Regions from separate parts of the Homo sapiens genome. Here region 1 is linked to region 2. The links are contacts of gene promoters, found by promoter capture Hi-C in human tissues and cell types (Jung and others, 2019). All regions are on one chromosome and are shown on one strand. The core of a region is centred on a gene start or on the middle of the fragment in contact, and the rest is flanking DNA. Distances in the headings are between cores, read along the strand shown. Region 1 overlaps PDE3A (phosphodiesterase 3A). Region 2 holds the start of PDE3A (phosphodiesterase 3A).

Region 1 (3,727 bases), core at 435-2,934, 40 kb after region 2:
TTACTTTTGCTTTTGTTGCCTATGCTTTCGGTGTCATACCCATAAAATCATTGCCAATACGAACGTCTTTTTCTGTGTTTTATTAGAGGAGTCTTATGGCTTCAGGTCTTACATTTAAGTCTTTAGTTCATTTTGAGCTAATTTTGTGTATGGTTAAGATAACAGTCAATATTATTTTTGTGTGTATGGATATACAGTTTTCCAAGCACCATTTATTAAAGACATATTCTTTCCCCATTGTTTATTCTGTGCCCTTGTTAAGGATTAGGTGACCGCATGTGCATAGGTTTATTTCTGGGCTCTCTGTTCTGTTCTATTGGTCTATGTGATAGACATCCTGTCTTATGCTGCTTTTCTGCCTTATTGGAGGCAAAAGTCACTGGTATACTATACAGTTTGGGATCAGCATAGATGTTGATTACAGGCTCTGTGATCTAGAGAAAGTTACTTAGCATCTCTGTGCCTTTTCATTCTCTATTTAATGGGTACAATATTTCCTATCTCCAAATGTTATTACTTAATCTTGAGATAATTTGCTTACAGCATCTGTCAAAGTGCCAAACATATAGCAGGTACACAATATAATTTTGTTTTCCTCATAAATACATGGTTAGGTTCAGCATGGTTATTCATGAAAAACTTTTTTTAAAAAATTGAACAACTGAATAAATTCTAATTGAATGGCTGAATTATTTGAAAGGCAAAAAAGGCAGGCAATAAAGTTAGTCTGAAGTATCTTCATGTAGGTATTCTTGGTGTAGAAGTGTAGTAACTCTAAATCTAGCAAAACAAGCTTTATTCCCATATACTGTAGCTGATTACCAAGTTCCCAGAGGGAGGTTGGTGGTGCTTTGGGGTCCAGTTTATTAGATTGGATTAGATGGGGTAGATGCAAGAAGATATACCAGCATTCCCAATTCCTTCCAATACAAAGATTTTGTGGCTTATTAAATTTTTAAGTGATTATGGAGTACTTAATTTTAGCTTTTTATAAACTTATAAATTTTTTTAAAAACTATTTCCAGTTGGCTTTCATATGTTTTTCATAGTATAGATATAGCATATTACATATCTATATTGACTACATGAAGAAAAGCAACTAGTGTGTAAAAATTAATTTTTTTGTTTTTGTTGAATGTCATTGTTTCAGACTTCTCTTGTACTGAAGTGTAGTAAAATGTATTTTCTATTTTTATTTATTTATTTATTTTGAGACTAAATGTTGCTCTGTCCCCCAGGCTGTAGTGCAGTGACTTGATCTTGGCTCACTGCAACCTCCGTCTGCCTCCTGGGTTGAAGCAATTCTGCCTCTGCATCCTAAGTAGCTGGGACTACAGGTGCGCGCCACCACGCCCAGCTAATTTTTGTATTTTTAGTAGAGATGGGGTTTCACCTTATTGGTCAGGCTGGTCTCGAACTCCTGACCTTGTGATCCACCCGCTTCAGCCCCCGAAAGTGTTGGGATTACAGGCGTGAGCCACCATGCCTGGCCAATGTGTTTTCTTTCAAATAAAACTTTATTAGAAAAATCATGTATTATAACTAATATTTTAGAAATCTATAAGAGTATGGCTGAAGTTAAAAATTTAAACAAGTGTTATTAGTCTTCCTACATAAAATATTGGTATGGAATCTGCATACCTTAAATAAAAGCTTGTAGTTACAAAACTTTATATTCTTAGTAATATTGTATACTCTAGTTTAATTTACATGGCTGTTTGGCTCTGTTAATGATAGAAAACCCTTCATTATTAAGGACAGCACTTCACAGAAAATTGACTGAAGCTAACTTTAACTTGCAGATGGCGTTCATTAAAGAGTTTCTTTTCATAAGGGTCATTTTTCATTTTTATTTCAAAGATTAAATGGATTTATACATAATTATTTCAACATGACATCTGTTCTCATTTTTTCCTTTCAGAGCTTTCTTCCCAAATATTCCATGTTTGTATTTTGTAAACCATACAAACAAGTTTTAAAGGAAAATATATAATCCTGAGTGATTACATAATTTATTGCCGTTCTCTATCTTATGCTTTTAATTTTATTTAATGCATGTCTTAAGTTTTTCAACAGACTTTTCTAAATGCCATGATAATATTAAGCTCTGTGACAACATTAATTATGTGTACATATATTATTTCGATTGCACAGTTTTTGAGTGCAATGATGGATCCATTGAGAATGAGGATTCTGGAAAGCTCTAAAAGAGTGGCTTGTGTATTTTTCCTTCTTCCTTTTTACCCGCTTTCCTCTCTCCCTCCCTTTCTTCTGGAAATGGGAATTTTTTTAATGAAATTTCATGCAAATTCAATGAATGAATGGTAAAACAAATCTGATCCAAACTATTGACAGAAGTGGAGGCAGGCACAGAACTCCAGCCTCTTCATCATCTCCTCATTTCCTCCTGAATTCCTTTTCATGTAGTTTCTTGGACAGATGCATCTGGAATCTGAAAGTAATATTTAATAGAGTATTCACATTCTTAATAGTTGTTATATTTGTAAGTCAGCGACACAGGTTGAAGCCACAAGCAATATTTAGTCTTGAATAGGTTTTACTTTTTAAAATTCTATTTGAGCTTTTTTCTTTTTTATTAATTGTGGTCATTTCTACAACTCTTTCTAGAAAACTGTATTTCTCAGATTTGAATATATTTGTTATTATTAGCTCTCTTATTTAAAGATGAACTAAGTTTCTTAAGGACAAAAAAGAAAATAATTTTTACCTACAATTTGATACTATGTAGAGAGAACATTTTCTTTCAGAAATGATCAAAATTGTGAAATCTTTGATAGATGGAAGAAAGTAGTTGTCTTTGCTTGTAATGAATACTTTCAAAATAAAGTCGCTGAATAAAAATAGTGATCTTACGAAATATTATAGTTGGATATCATCAGAGAGGTGATATTATAAATCTTCTACCCCAGATAATGATTTTTTAATAGTCTTTCTGTTACAAATGTTTAGTCACTACTGAAATACATTATATGAAAGAGAGCTCACCACAAATCAAACCAATACAAAGGAGTATTACAAGGAAAAAGGCTTTGAATCCAAGTGCACATTGGAGCAAGCTGCTATTCTTTTACAGATTAACTATTTGTTATTGCGCATTCAGCAAATTCCTTAGCTTTTGGTCTTCTGTCTACTAAAGGAAAATTTAAATTCCAGCTCTGCAAGTTTGTTGAGTAATAATATAAATGGATTATCTCATAGACAAATGTTTTAAAATAAAATATTGCTATAGGATACTTGCTATATTGAACCAAAAACTGCCTTGTAACTTTGACTCCTTTGTCCTAGTGTTTATTTTCTATCCTACATGTCTGTTAGGATTCCCAAGTCTTGCTGTCCCCAGGCTAAAGCTATTCATTGAATTCAACTGTCCATTGTCTGACCTCATTTTCATATTCCTTAAACATTGCTCTTCCCTGGGATGCACTAGTTAAATCTTATTGTGGTATTGGGCTATCCTTTTTTGTAGCCATCCTCAGGGAAGCCACACTTGTTTGGCATGACCCTGTTGTCTTGGCTGCACTCAATTGTACGTCCCCAAGCTGAGCAGTGAGATTCTGATTCAGGCATTCAGTATTGGGACCAAGGGAGAGTTAAGTTAGTCTTTTCCAACATGCAAAAGCTGTAGGGCTTGAAGCAGAGAAAGTCAATTCACAGAGAAAATGAAACATAATTTCTGTTCTTTCTGCTAGTGTGGGGAGAGGAAGAG
Region 2 (3,782 bases), core at 830-3,329:
TTTGTTAAAGAAACCTGGATGCCAGGACATTGCCTCCTTATTTTATTGAAGAGTTCCAGGATGTTATTAACACATGGATTTAGAATATTCTTGTTTTGCTGCCATTAGCAAATGCCATTTTTTCCTGTTACAACTTTTAAAAAACATCTGCTTCCCATACCTTAAGTGTTCAGTTTTTATGATAATATTATATTAAATTTTCTAAAGAACTGAGATAATTGTGGGGGTAGGGGACAGATAAAATTGAAATATTCTAAAATTTCCCTTACTATGCTTTTCTTTTTAACCTTGATATATGCCAGATTTTTGGTTTATTATTTTAATATGTTATTTTTGATGCCAACAGATATGAATGATTTTCCAATCAAGGTTTTTCACTCCGATGTGTCCCAGGTAGGATCTGGCATATGAATCATATGTCTAAAAAGGAAACTCATGAAAGTATGTGTGCGTGCTAGGGGGCTCATTTGTCTTTGGCAAAGACATTGCTGCTCCTGTTTCCTTAATTATTAAACAGATGGTGCCCACTGCCATTGACTAGCTGCCCAACTCATACTCCTGTGTGGTAGCACAATTCTGGACATCTGACAGAGAGAAGCTATACCTTTATAGTATATCTGCCTTCTACTAGAACAGGCTGCTTCCCATGAAGCTGTTTAAAACTTAAGTCATCTTCTCCCCCTGTCCCCATAAATTAATTTTATCTCAAGGATCTCCTTTTGGCTTTTTTTATTGCTTCATGTCTACATACAAAATACAGTGGCATATTGAATCAATTATCTAAATGCTCTAGGCTGTAAATACACTTTAACCTGGAATGTCAAGATAATTAAGACAAAATTGGATTATTAAGATTATTATTAGTGAGGGCAAATGACATCTAAGATAGCCATGTTAAAAGTGGAGTATCATATTAAAAAGACAACTAGATCCCAGGGAACATCAATAGAGTTTAAGTCCATTGAACAGATACTGAATTCTTTTTCATAATCTGCCAAAAAAAGGTTAGCTTGAAAATTTTCTTTTAGTTTCTCAAATATCACACTGCTGCAGTACACGAACCTTTACTCATTAATAACTAAGGTCCTGATTTTTTTCATATGCTTTGCTCGAAGATGTAGTATTTTGCAGCCATAGACAGTCTTCTAAGATCTCTCCTAGTGTTAACCCACCTATCCTCACCTCTCCCTTGAGATTTTTCTTTATTTTTTGATGAACTATCTGGGCTTTTAAACTTTGTTAACCTTTTTTGAGGATACGGTCACTTAATCTCAATGTAATTTTACTTTCCACAGTCAAAAACTATTGTGTAATACTCATGCACTGGATTTAAATGACTGCTGCCTCTCCTTCCTTTCTTTTTATACTATTGTGGTCTAGGTAAGGCTGATTCTTCCATCATTTGAACCAACAGGCCAGGCTTGGGTTCTCATAAAGCAGACCTTCCAGCAGGAGCGACCAAAGGATGACACTGTCACCTGAAATTGGACTGCTGTTGTACCTGACTTGGGAACATCTTTGAATCAGACAGTAGAAGTGGCTGTCATTTTCAGGGACAGTAGAAAGTATGTTGGCTCTCATCTGCCAAGTAGGCAAACACAATCTTTTTTTTTTTTTTTTCCTTCCAACGTTCTAGGGAGCTCAGCCTCAGGGCTAGCCGCAGCCCCCCACACCCCGGGGCTGCGGTGGGCTGCGCGGTGGATCAGCCTCAGCAGCCCCTGCTCCAGCCTGTAGGGTGAACCGGCCGCTTTCCCAGCAAAGGAGCAATCGAGCTGAGGGTAGCGCCTCCTCCGCAGGAGGGGGCGGGAGCTCGGCTGAGAAAGCTTTCCTAGGGAGTTGCCTTAAAGAAAGAAAGCGGAATTGTCGATCACTCCAGTTGCCAGTTTTATACAATTTTAAGCAGTCGTCGCCACTCGTTTCCCCTTTGCAAAACTGCAAATCACCACCAACCTTGCATCAAATAGAAGTGGGGAGGGAAAAAAAAAGCAAATCTCCTTCTCCCTTCTCACCCTCCCTTTCTTCTCACCCTCCCTTCCTCTCTTACTCGCTCCTTCTCCCTCCCTCCCTTCTGCGGCTGCCGCTAGTCTCTCGGTCTGGCTCTCTCTCCGACGGGACTTAGCAACTTCTTATTTCTCAGCCCCTTGTCCATTTTTTTTTTTCCATCCTTTGCCATGAATTGGATTGACAGAGGCGGGGGAGGCTTTGCTTTCTGCCCCAGGGAATGGCGATTCGCGTCCTGGGGCCGTGCCGGGGAGAATCGGCCGAGGAGAAAGAAAGAGTGATAGAAAAAGAGCTGCAGGAAGGAGGAGAAGGGAGACCTCCATCTGCCGCGGGCCCGGCGCGCTGCAGCGCAGCGCAGCGCCGAGCTGCGCCTCGGAATGGCCCGGAGCCCGCCCTGCGCCCCCGGCTCCTCCAGCGTCAGCGGCTCCTGCGCGCGGGATGCATTGGGCAATTTTTGAAATCCTGAAGTAGGAAGAGACCCCGGAGGATATAAGTCGGGGGTGGGGGTGGAGCAGAGAATCTGTGAAAGATATTCAAAGAGAGAAAAGGGGAATCCTGATCGTTTCTGCCCGTGCTTGTTTTCAACTTGAGCGTGCTAGCCTTTAACTTGAAGAAGTCTCATTGGAGCATCTAGCATTCTCCAGGAGTTATTCGAAAGCTGAAACTTTCAGTGGATTGTGGGCCTGGGGAGAAGAAGGATTCCGAGGGTGGAATTGGGAAGAGCGTGCGTGCGTGTGTGTGTGTGTGTGTGTGCGCGCGCGCGCGTGGGTCGGGGCGGGGGCGTCGGGGGGCCACTGGGAATTCAGTGAAGAGGGCACCCTATACCATGGCAGTGCCCGGCGACGCTGCACGAGTCAGGGACAAGCCCGTCCACAGTGGGGTGAGTCAAGCCCCCACGGCGGGCCGGGACTGCCACCATCGTGCGGACCCCGCATCGCCGCGGGACTCGGGCTGCCGTGGCTGCTGGGGAGACCTGGTGCTGCAGCCGCTCCGGAGCTCTCGGAAACTTTCCTCCGCGCTGTGCGCGGGCTCCCTGTCCTTTCTGCTGGCGCTGCTGGTGAGGCTGGTCCGCGGGGAGGTCGGCTGTGACCTGGAGCAGTGTAAGGAGGCGGCGGCGGCGGAGGAGGAGGAAGCAGCCCCGGGAGCAGAAGGGGGCGTCTTCCCGGGGCCTCGGGGAGGTGCTCCCGGGGGCGGTGCGCGGCTCAGCCCCTGGCTGCAGCCCTCGGCGCTGCTCTTCAGTCTCCTGTGTGCCTTCTTCTGGATGGGCTTGTACCTCCTGCGCGCCGGGGTGCGCCTGCCTCTGGCTGTCGCGCTGCTGGCCGCCTGCTGCGGGGGGGAAGCGCTCGTCCAGATTGGGCTGGGCGTCGGGGAGGATCACTTACTCTCACTCCCCGCCGCGGGGGTGGTGCTCAGCTGCTTGGCCGCCGCGACATGGCTGGTGCTGAGGCTGAGGCTGGGCGTCCTCATGATCGCCTTGACTAGCGCGGTCAGGACCGTGTCCCTCATTTCCTTAGAGAGGTTCAAGGTCGCCTGGAGACCTTACCTGGCGTACCTGGCCGGCGTGCTGGGGATCCTCTTGGCCAGGTACGTGGAACAAATCTTGCCGCAGTCCGCGGAGGCGGCTCCAAGGGAGCATTTGGGGTCCCAGCTGATTGCTGGGACCAAGGAAGATATCCCGGTGTTTAAGAGGAGGAGGCGGTCCAGCTCCGTCGTGTCCGCCGAGATGTCCGGCTGCAGCAGCAAGTCCCATCGGAGGACCTCCCTGCCCTGTATACCGAGGG

The links. The method cuts DNA at HindIII sites, captures the fragments that hold promoters and counts their contacts. A contact is called where the count stands out against the background at its distance.
Region 1: a contact is called between a fragment that was not itself captured here and the fragment with the promoter of PDE3A in region 2, in 1 of the 25 tissues and cell types used here (liver).

Annotation. Positions count from the first base shown.
Region 1 is chr12:20,406,727-20,410,453 of GRCh38, forward strand. All of the region lies in intron 1 of PDE3A (phosphodiesterase 3A), which reads left to right. Among named protein-coding and RNA genes, the nearest start is that of PDE3A-AS1, 38 kb to the left of the region's middle. The HindIII fragment of the contact is 3,857 bases long and covers 1-3,613 here.
Region 2 is chr12:20,366,458-20,370,239 of GRCh38, forward strand. It overlaps PDE3A (phosphodiesterase 3A), which reads left to right and starts at 2,080. Exons shown (of 16, transcript NM_000921.5): 1 at 2,080-3,782. The coding sequence starts at 2,828. It overlaps PDE3A-AS1 (PDE3A antisense RNA 1), which reads right to left. Exons shown (of 2, transcript NR_186033.1): 1 at 3,384-3,782. RefSeq lists a silencer at 3,118-3,412. The HindIII fragment of the contact is 7,833 bases long and covers 41-3,782 here.